Regions from separate parts of the Homo sapiens genome. Here region 1 is linked to region 2. Evidence: promoter capture Hi-C in human tissues and cell types (Jung and others, 2019). All regions are on one chromosome and are shown on one strand. Each heading gives the region's core, a stretch centred on a gene start or on the middle of the fragment in contact. The rest is flanking DNA. Distances are from core to core; before and after follow the strand shown.

Evidence for each region. Contacts are between HindIII fragments. The study calls those that stand out against the background at their distance.
Region 1: a fragment that was not itself captured here is called in contact with the fragment with the promoter of HHATL in region 2 in 5 of the 25 tissues and cell types used here (bladder, heart right ventricle, neural progenitor cells and 2 more).

Annotation. Positions count from the first base shown.
Region 1 is chr3:42,624,675-42,628,322 of GRCh38, forward strand. All of the region lies in intron 6 of NKTR (natural killer cell triggering receptor), which reads left to right. The region is part of intron 1 of ZBTB47-AS1 (ZBTB47 and NKTR antisense RNA 1); the gene reads right to left. Among named protein-coding and RNA genes, the nearest start is that of NKTR, 26 kb to the left of the region's middle. The HindIII fragment of the contact is 4,741 bases long and covers 1-3,648 here.
Region 2 is chr3:42,700,954-42,704,313 of GRCh38, forward strand. HHATL (hedgehog acyltransferase like) reads right to left here and starts at 1,845. Exons shown (of 12, transcript NM_020707.4): 1 at 1,626-1,845. It overlaps HHATL-AS1 (HHATL antisense RNA 1), which reads left to right and starts at 1,588. Exons shown (of 3, transcript NR_146957.1): 1 at 1,588-1,776; 2 at 3,196-3,279. It also overlaps a transcript of CCDC13 not described here. RefSeq lists a silencer at 561-630. The HindIII fragment of the contact is 15,374 bases long and covers 1-3,360 here.

The sequences.
Region 1 (3,648 bases), core at 211-2,710, 77 kb before region 2:
ACTATAAATTTAAGCTTATTTAAGCTCAAAATTTTATTAACCACTCTGCTCTGAATTTATTTTAGTTAAGGATTAGAAGCATCAAACATTTTGCTGGAAAACAAAATGACATTTGGGGAAACATTCTTTCCCCTTTTGCTGTTACTGATAGCTTATTAATTCTGGCTGTAATTTTTTTGTCTTTATATACATTAATCAAAAAGACAAAGATGTTGTATAAAATAGTCATGAAAAAGATTGAGTAAATAGTTTATAGCTTTGTAGTAACTTCTGGGATAGGACACTAATATAGCTGTCAGGAAACCTTGATTTTAGTTTCCTATGTACCTTCAGTTCGTTTTTCTTAAACATTGGTATAAAAATATGGATGTAAAAGGAAGAAGGTATTTTGTAGGGTAGTTGTAAGTTCCTGAATGTGTGGAATGATTTATGTGCAAACATTGTCTTGCCTAATGGAAATAGTCATAATTGCCTAGTTTTCATTAGTCTGAAAAATGTCTTAAAGAAGTATTGGGCTCATCTTAAATCAAGAGCAACAGAAGTCTCTTCATCAGCTGCTGTTAGAACATGAGTCTGCGCAGCCATAGAGTAGGGATCTGCAGACCCTGCAAGAACAGTTCCTGTCACTGGCCACTGTCAGTGGTCATTAATAATTATAACAATGTAAGAAAACAAGATAATATAGAAGAGTCAAACTTTGAACTTTAAACAAAACATGTTTGCTACATTTTAACAGTCATAAATAGGGCAATGGGGGGGCGGGGCATAAGTTTTAGAATATGTTTTATGTCATTTAAGAATCTGACTTGCAAGTACCTGAATGGGAGAGAAGTGCTGATTATTACAAAGTAGTGGAGCAAGGAGAGTTGAGGAGTAGTTGGTTTTAAGGGGTTTGTAAAGCTGTGTTGATGTTTTGGGTAATAAAACTAGATTCGGGGTAGAAATGCTTTTTCTACCCACGTATTCATAAATTTATGTAAGAAGAAATGCTAGTAAGTGTTAATAACCTGAGAAGCTCTAGCTTTTTCCTTCCTTTTTTTGGGGTAATACCTTCATATGTTAATTTCAGATTTTTTCATGAGCAAAGATGTTCGTGAAACTTAGCCATAAACCATATTCTCTGAATATCAAGTGTCATCCCTAACATTCAGGCTTAATAACTTAATGTTTATGTGACTTACGTGCTAGCAATGTGGAAGAAATTTTTTATCTAGTAATGTTTGGTGTGTATTATCTTAACATTAGTGCTGAATTTTAGAAAGCACTTCTATTTTGGTGACTTTTGGAACACATGGGTAGAGCATTGTCAAGTGGCTTGGTTAGTTTCCATTACCCTTATACAAGTGTTGTCATTCTGTACAATTTGGTGCCTCTTCCCTGACAGTGTGATAGTTTCAGGAGTTGAAGGGAAAGCATTGCATGTTAAAAGCTAAAGTGGACAGAAGTTATCTTTATTTCCCTCTTCTGTACTACTTTACACCTACAGTCACTTATTTTTTTTTTTTGCAACATTCATTGAAAACTCCACATTATTTCAAACATTATGTTCTTTTTTGACTTATTCATGTTGTCAATGCCTTTATGATAATTTTAAGCTTATTTTTAAATATTTCAAGATTTATTACATTCAAAACTCTTATAAAGCATTTTGTTCATGGTATAATAGTATTTTGATCTGAGTAGTAATAGATTTATTTGTTTAAATATAGATAAAAATTGGTCAGTGTGTGTTCTCCAAAAAAAAATCTTGATAATGGGGAAAATCAGAGATTAGACAGGAAAAGAAGATATTGTGGCTAAGATTTGACTGCACTTACGCTTTCATCTCTCTTGCCTTTTTATTCTCTGAGAAGGTCCCTAAAATTGTAGTTAATGCTGCTTTATTATTATGTTCAGTGACTTAACTTCAATGTGTATCTAATATCACTGAACAGTAACTAGGGTCCGAACATTTGCTCATTAACTCCTGAAAGTAGTCTGTTGTGATACGTCACCAAACAAAGGTTTCAAATGTAGAAGCATGAAAGGTTCTTTAATTATTTGATGTGAATTAGTTAAAAGTTCCTTGAAATTTTATTTTGGATGATCTTAACTCACTTTTTTCTAATGAAATTTTTGCTTTCAACTGGTAGTAACTGGTCCTGGGCATTCAGATTTTTATATTTATGTATGTATGCAAGATACACTATTCTCTTTTGAGAAAATGTTGTCTTAGCTAATTTCTGGGATTTGTGAAAGGAAATGTAATATGTTAATAGCTATTATTGGCACTCTATGTTACAATATTAAGGATCTAAATAGATTCCCACTTAGCCACGATGCTTTTCTTAAGCATAATTCATCTCTACGTAAATATCCCATATGAAAGAAAATTTAGAGCCCTCCATTTAAAAAAGCTTTCTTGCTCTGCATAAAACTTGAAAATAATTAATTTCAAAGTTATATTGATATTAAAACATAGATTCAGTCTTGTCTTAAAAGTGTATTACAATTTATTTCTTGCCATTTTTGTGTAAAATTTACAGAAAGAGTGTTACACCGTGCGCTCCAAAGGTAATGTCTCATTACTCTAAGGCTCTCTCTCTCTTTGCCTTTATCTCTTTAATTCTGTTGTTATGTGCATTGAAACATTTTAAGAAAAAAAAAAACTTTCTGCTTTATCTGTATAGCAGCAGTACATGTAAAACAAGTGCATTTTATTTTTCATGGTTAATCCTGGGAACTATATTTTAACTTCAGTGGCTTGTTTCCACCAAGTTCCTGTACATCTTCTGGTGGGGGAGTGGGGTTATTAGTTTATAGTATGGTTTTAGTTCTCATTTCAGTGTGGAATTAGTCATTTCTGTATAAGGGCAAAAGGTTCTCTGATAATGGTATAAAACTATAGATTGTTTTTGGAGTAGCAGTGACACTTGTCAATTTCTAAGATTTATAAGGCTTAAATACCTTGCACACATGTTTTTTAAAGTAGATTCAGGGGTCGGGAAAACTGAAAAATCACTGTCTTTAAGTACAAGAGAAAAATGGAAATGCATAAATATTGAAAGGTTTTACAATTTGAAATGTTCTTTGTGGTTTTTTCTTTTTTAGGTATGTTTTCATAAGCATATATAAATTTAAACATTTTTGATAGCCTCTGGCCTTAACTTACTGAGCATGTGTCACCATTGCACAGCTCTTTAAACAGCCGCTTTTAAGATCAATGCAATTTTTCTTTTAATTGAAGATTTTGAAAGATTAAGAGTTAGTGAGATGAGCTCTCTGCCTCTTTTAGTAGAATTGAATAGTCTGGATTGTGGATATTATTTCTCTCCGCCCTTTTGTAACCCTCTTTGGCTAATGTCCTCTGTTCATCCACGTATTAGCCAAGTGCCAGTAACCCTGCTTTACATTGGGATTTCTACTCCTGGAATGTAGGTTGAGAACCCCAGAGGGCTTCTTTTTGTTAAATACTTTTAGTATTCTTAATATGTAATCTAATCCAATTAAAGTGCAGACTTATATTTCTGTATCTTGAGTTGCAGATGCAAGTAATGGACTTTAATCATTCATATCAGGTTTAGGCACTATGGGCAGGCTGAGTTGTCCTTGAAATAGTCATTCGTGTCTTCATTTGTTTTCTGCACTACTGCTATAAAGGACCAAGTT
Region 2 (3,360 bases), core at 595-3,094:
CTTGGGGACCTTGTACCATCACTCTGCCTGCCCCTGTGCCCCCCACAGTTCACAGGCCACCGAACACCAGTGCCCCATCCCAGCTGCTGCTCTTGCCCCCACCCCACCCATCAAGGCTCTTGCCCGCAGAGCCCTCACTCGCAGCCTGCCTCCCTCACCTTCATTTACATCTTCATACCTTCCAGAGGCACCGGCCCCACCCTCTGCCAAAACCGCTCCTGCCAAGGCCCCCATGACCTGCGTGCGGAGAAACCCCACCTCTATCACTACAGTCAGGTTTCTGCCTGCAGGGTCCCCACCTCGATCAGTGAGTCTCCCTTAGCTCCTCACAAAGCCCCAGCTTCTCTAAGACCCTTTCTCTGACTCCCACTCCCCTCCCTGAGATCCCATGACCACCCCAGGTGCTGCCCCTAGAGCCAAGCCTCCATCCTCGCATTAAGCCTCCAGCCTGTCACTGACCCCCATTCCCCCAACAAGTCCCTGAGCTCCAGCCTGTCACATCCCAGTCCCTGCCTGTGTCCGTGACCACACTGCCCCACTCTCTCAGCGCTCTGTGTATTCAGGCCCTGGGCACCAGCTGGAGGCTGTGCTATTTGAGGAGGTGCCCAGGAGTAGCGGATGTGGGGCCAGGCGGGGCCAGGCGGGGCCAGGGAGGGCACTGGCTGCTGTCCAAGGTGCTGACCAGAATCAGGCCCCGGCTGAGTCTCACCACTCCCTCCAGCGGGGGCCTAGCTTGTCCCCTGGAGAACTGCTGGGCCGTACTACGGCTCAGCTAGCACCTTTACCCTTCCTATCCCGCTTCAGCCTGGCTCAGGGGCTTCCCAAGGACTCCATGGATACAGACATAGGACCCAAATTAAAGGGAGGAAGCAGGGAACATGTCCAGGCAACTCTTGGGCTGACGGGGCCAAGAGGTGGCTGATGTGGCCCTTTTGCCCACCCTTGATCCTCCCCTAAATCTTCATCCCCAGCCCTGTAGCCATCTCCCCTGGGCCCCCCAGCAGCCGACGGTCTCCTCGTACAGATGGAGGGGTCATGGGCCAGATAGGGGCAGGGACCTGTCAAGGTCACATGGCAGACCTGGGACAGACTTCTGCCTGCCTCCCTTCAGGATTGGGTTTCTCAGTGACCCCCCTCTGGAATCTGGGGTAAGAGAAGACCACCACTGCCCCTGCCCACAGCAGAGGCTGCCAGCCTGATGGCTGTGCTGTCGGCCTGAGGGTGGAGGCACCTCCTCATCAGTTGGGTGGGGGTGGAGAGGCCCTGGGGATCAGGTTAATGGAGCAGGAGCTTGAAACCGGAGCATGGTGAAGAGCCCGTGAAATAGCTTTGTCAGCTGCCTCCCACTCGCCACTTTCCAATTTTAGCTCCCCATGGCCGGTGCGGGGTGTCCCCAGTGAGGCCTCTGCAAGGAGCTGGCCCCCAGCCTGGGGCCTCTCCTGATAGACCCCCAGACCAGGGCTGGCCTGTGGACACGGGGGCATACCCTTTCCCCTGGTCCTGCCTGCCCCAGATGCCCCGGGGGTAAAGCCCCTTTTGGGGCCTGTGATTTGGGATGAGGGCCTGGGGTGTGCCCCACAAGTCTCAAGAGCCCCAGAGTAGCTGCATCCCCAGCTGGCACTGACCTTGAGGAGGCCGCAAGGGACCCTGGCACACTGCCCACCTCAGGCTCTGGGGTCCGGCTTCCAACTGTCCGTCCGTGCGACCGGCTGAGCTCTGGGGCCACGGTGGGGTGTGTCCAGCCCTGGGGTCCCCACCCCCTTGAGGTTATGAGCGGTGAGTGGTGACAGCGGGAGGAGGAGGGGGAGGAGGAGGTGGCCTTCCTGGAGCGGAGCTGAGCAGAGTGGAGCAGAGCCGAGTGCTGCAGAGCTGCTGGCCACAGGGAGCCGCAGGGAGGATCCTTGAAGGGGGGCGGGTGCTGGGTGGGGGGAGGGTGTCCAGTAGCATAGGCTCAGACAGGGACACCTGGGCCTCTCTTCAGCCTGCCTCCCCTGGCTCCTAGAGAGCCTGTGCCTCTCTCTCACTGCTACCCAGGACTTCCCTCTTCCAGGAAGACTCCTGGTGGTCCCACCAGCCTCTCCAGGCTTGTAAGCCCTGCCCCCACCACAGACACACACAGTCACAACATGCAAACACTTTCATGCTTGGGCTCCAGGGACTCCAGCTCCTACCTTTACATATGACCTCCTAAGGGCTATCCCAGGGCAGACTTGTCTCGCCCCATGACCTGGTCCTTTTCATTATGCCGTGAGTCCTGGCTGGCCATGCATCAGTGCCTGAGGGAGGGCTGACTTGCCTGATGGGACTGGAACTGGCATGGGACATGTGGCTGAGAGGGATCCCCATAAGTCAGCCCTGTCCCATAGGGAGTGTCCTGGATGGAGGGGTGCTAGCAGGGTCACTTGGCAAGGCTTGTGGGTACTTGGAATGGCTGGTATCCTCTCGGTGGCAGAGTGGAGGCAGACAGGAAGACAGGTGTGTTCCTAACCAACTGGGAGTCCTGGTAGGACAGGGCCCTCATTCTGGAAGGGAGCATCCAAGGCCTCAGCCCTGGATACCTGAGGGGAGGGGCATCCTGAAGGTGCCCCTGAGATTAAGAACCTCTGACAGTGCCCCTTCGGTTGAGGCCAAGTCTCGGGCAGCTGTATGTGTCTGTGCTATCTAGGGGGACCTGTTCACCTGTGTGCTTGTGGGGAGGCTCTCGGGGGTAGAAGGAGCTTTGTGGCTGTGATCAGTCACAGGACAGCTCCTGGAGCCCCTGCTGATCCTATGACCCCAGCTTCAGGCTCAGTTGAGGAGGCAGGAGGGAGGTGCTGCTCCCCACCCATCAGGGCCCAGGAAGGGGAGAGACTGCACTTAGGCAGGGAGCTGCCTCCCGAGCACATAGACACGCTGGCCTGGAGAACAGCAAGGAGACGCCCAACCTACACACTCCACACAGGACACAGAGGCCCGTGTCTGTGGTCCCCGACCCTGAGAAGCATGAATGGTGACTACTGCACAGTGTGGGTGCTGGGTTAGAGCTGTGGTGGGTAATGGGCACTAGAGAGGCCAGCATCAGGAAGGGAAGGATACCTGAGCCAGACTTCAGGGTTAAGGAGGGCTTCCTCAGGGAGGGGTAGTCAAAGGTTGTTAGGAGTAAGTTAATCATAGTAGCCAGGATGTACATGGATTAACTTTTTAATGTCACCACAGCCCATAGGGAAGATGTTGCCACTGTACGCAGTTGGGAGAAGAAGGACCTGGCACATGAGGAAGCCAAGTAGTTGGATCAGCCCTGTAAGCTCCTGGCACTGACTGCCCTGCAGGGGCGACAACCCCGTGCACCCACACTGGGGCCCTCACGAGGCTCCAAGAAAA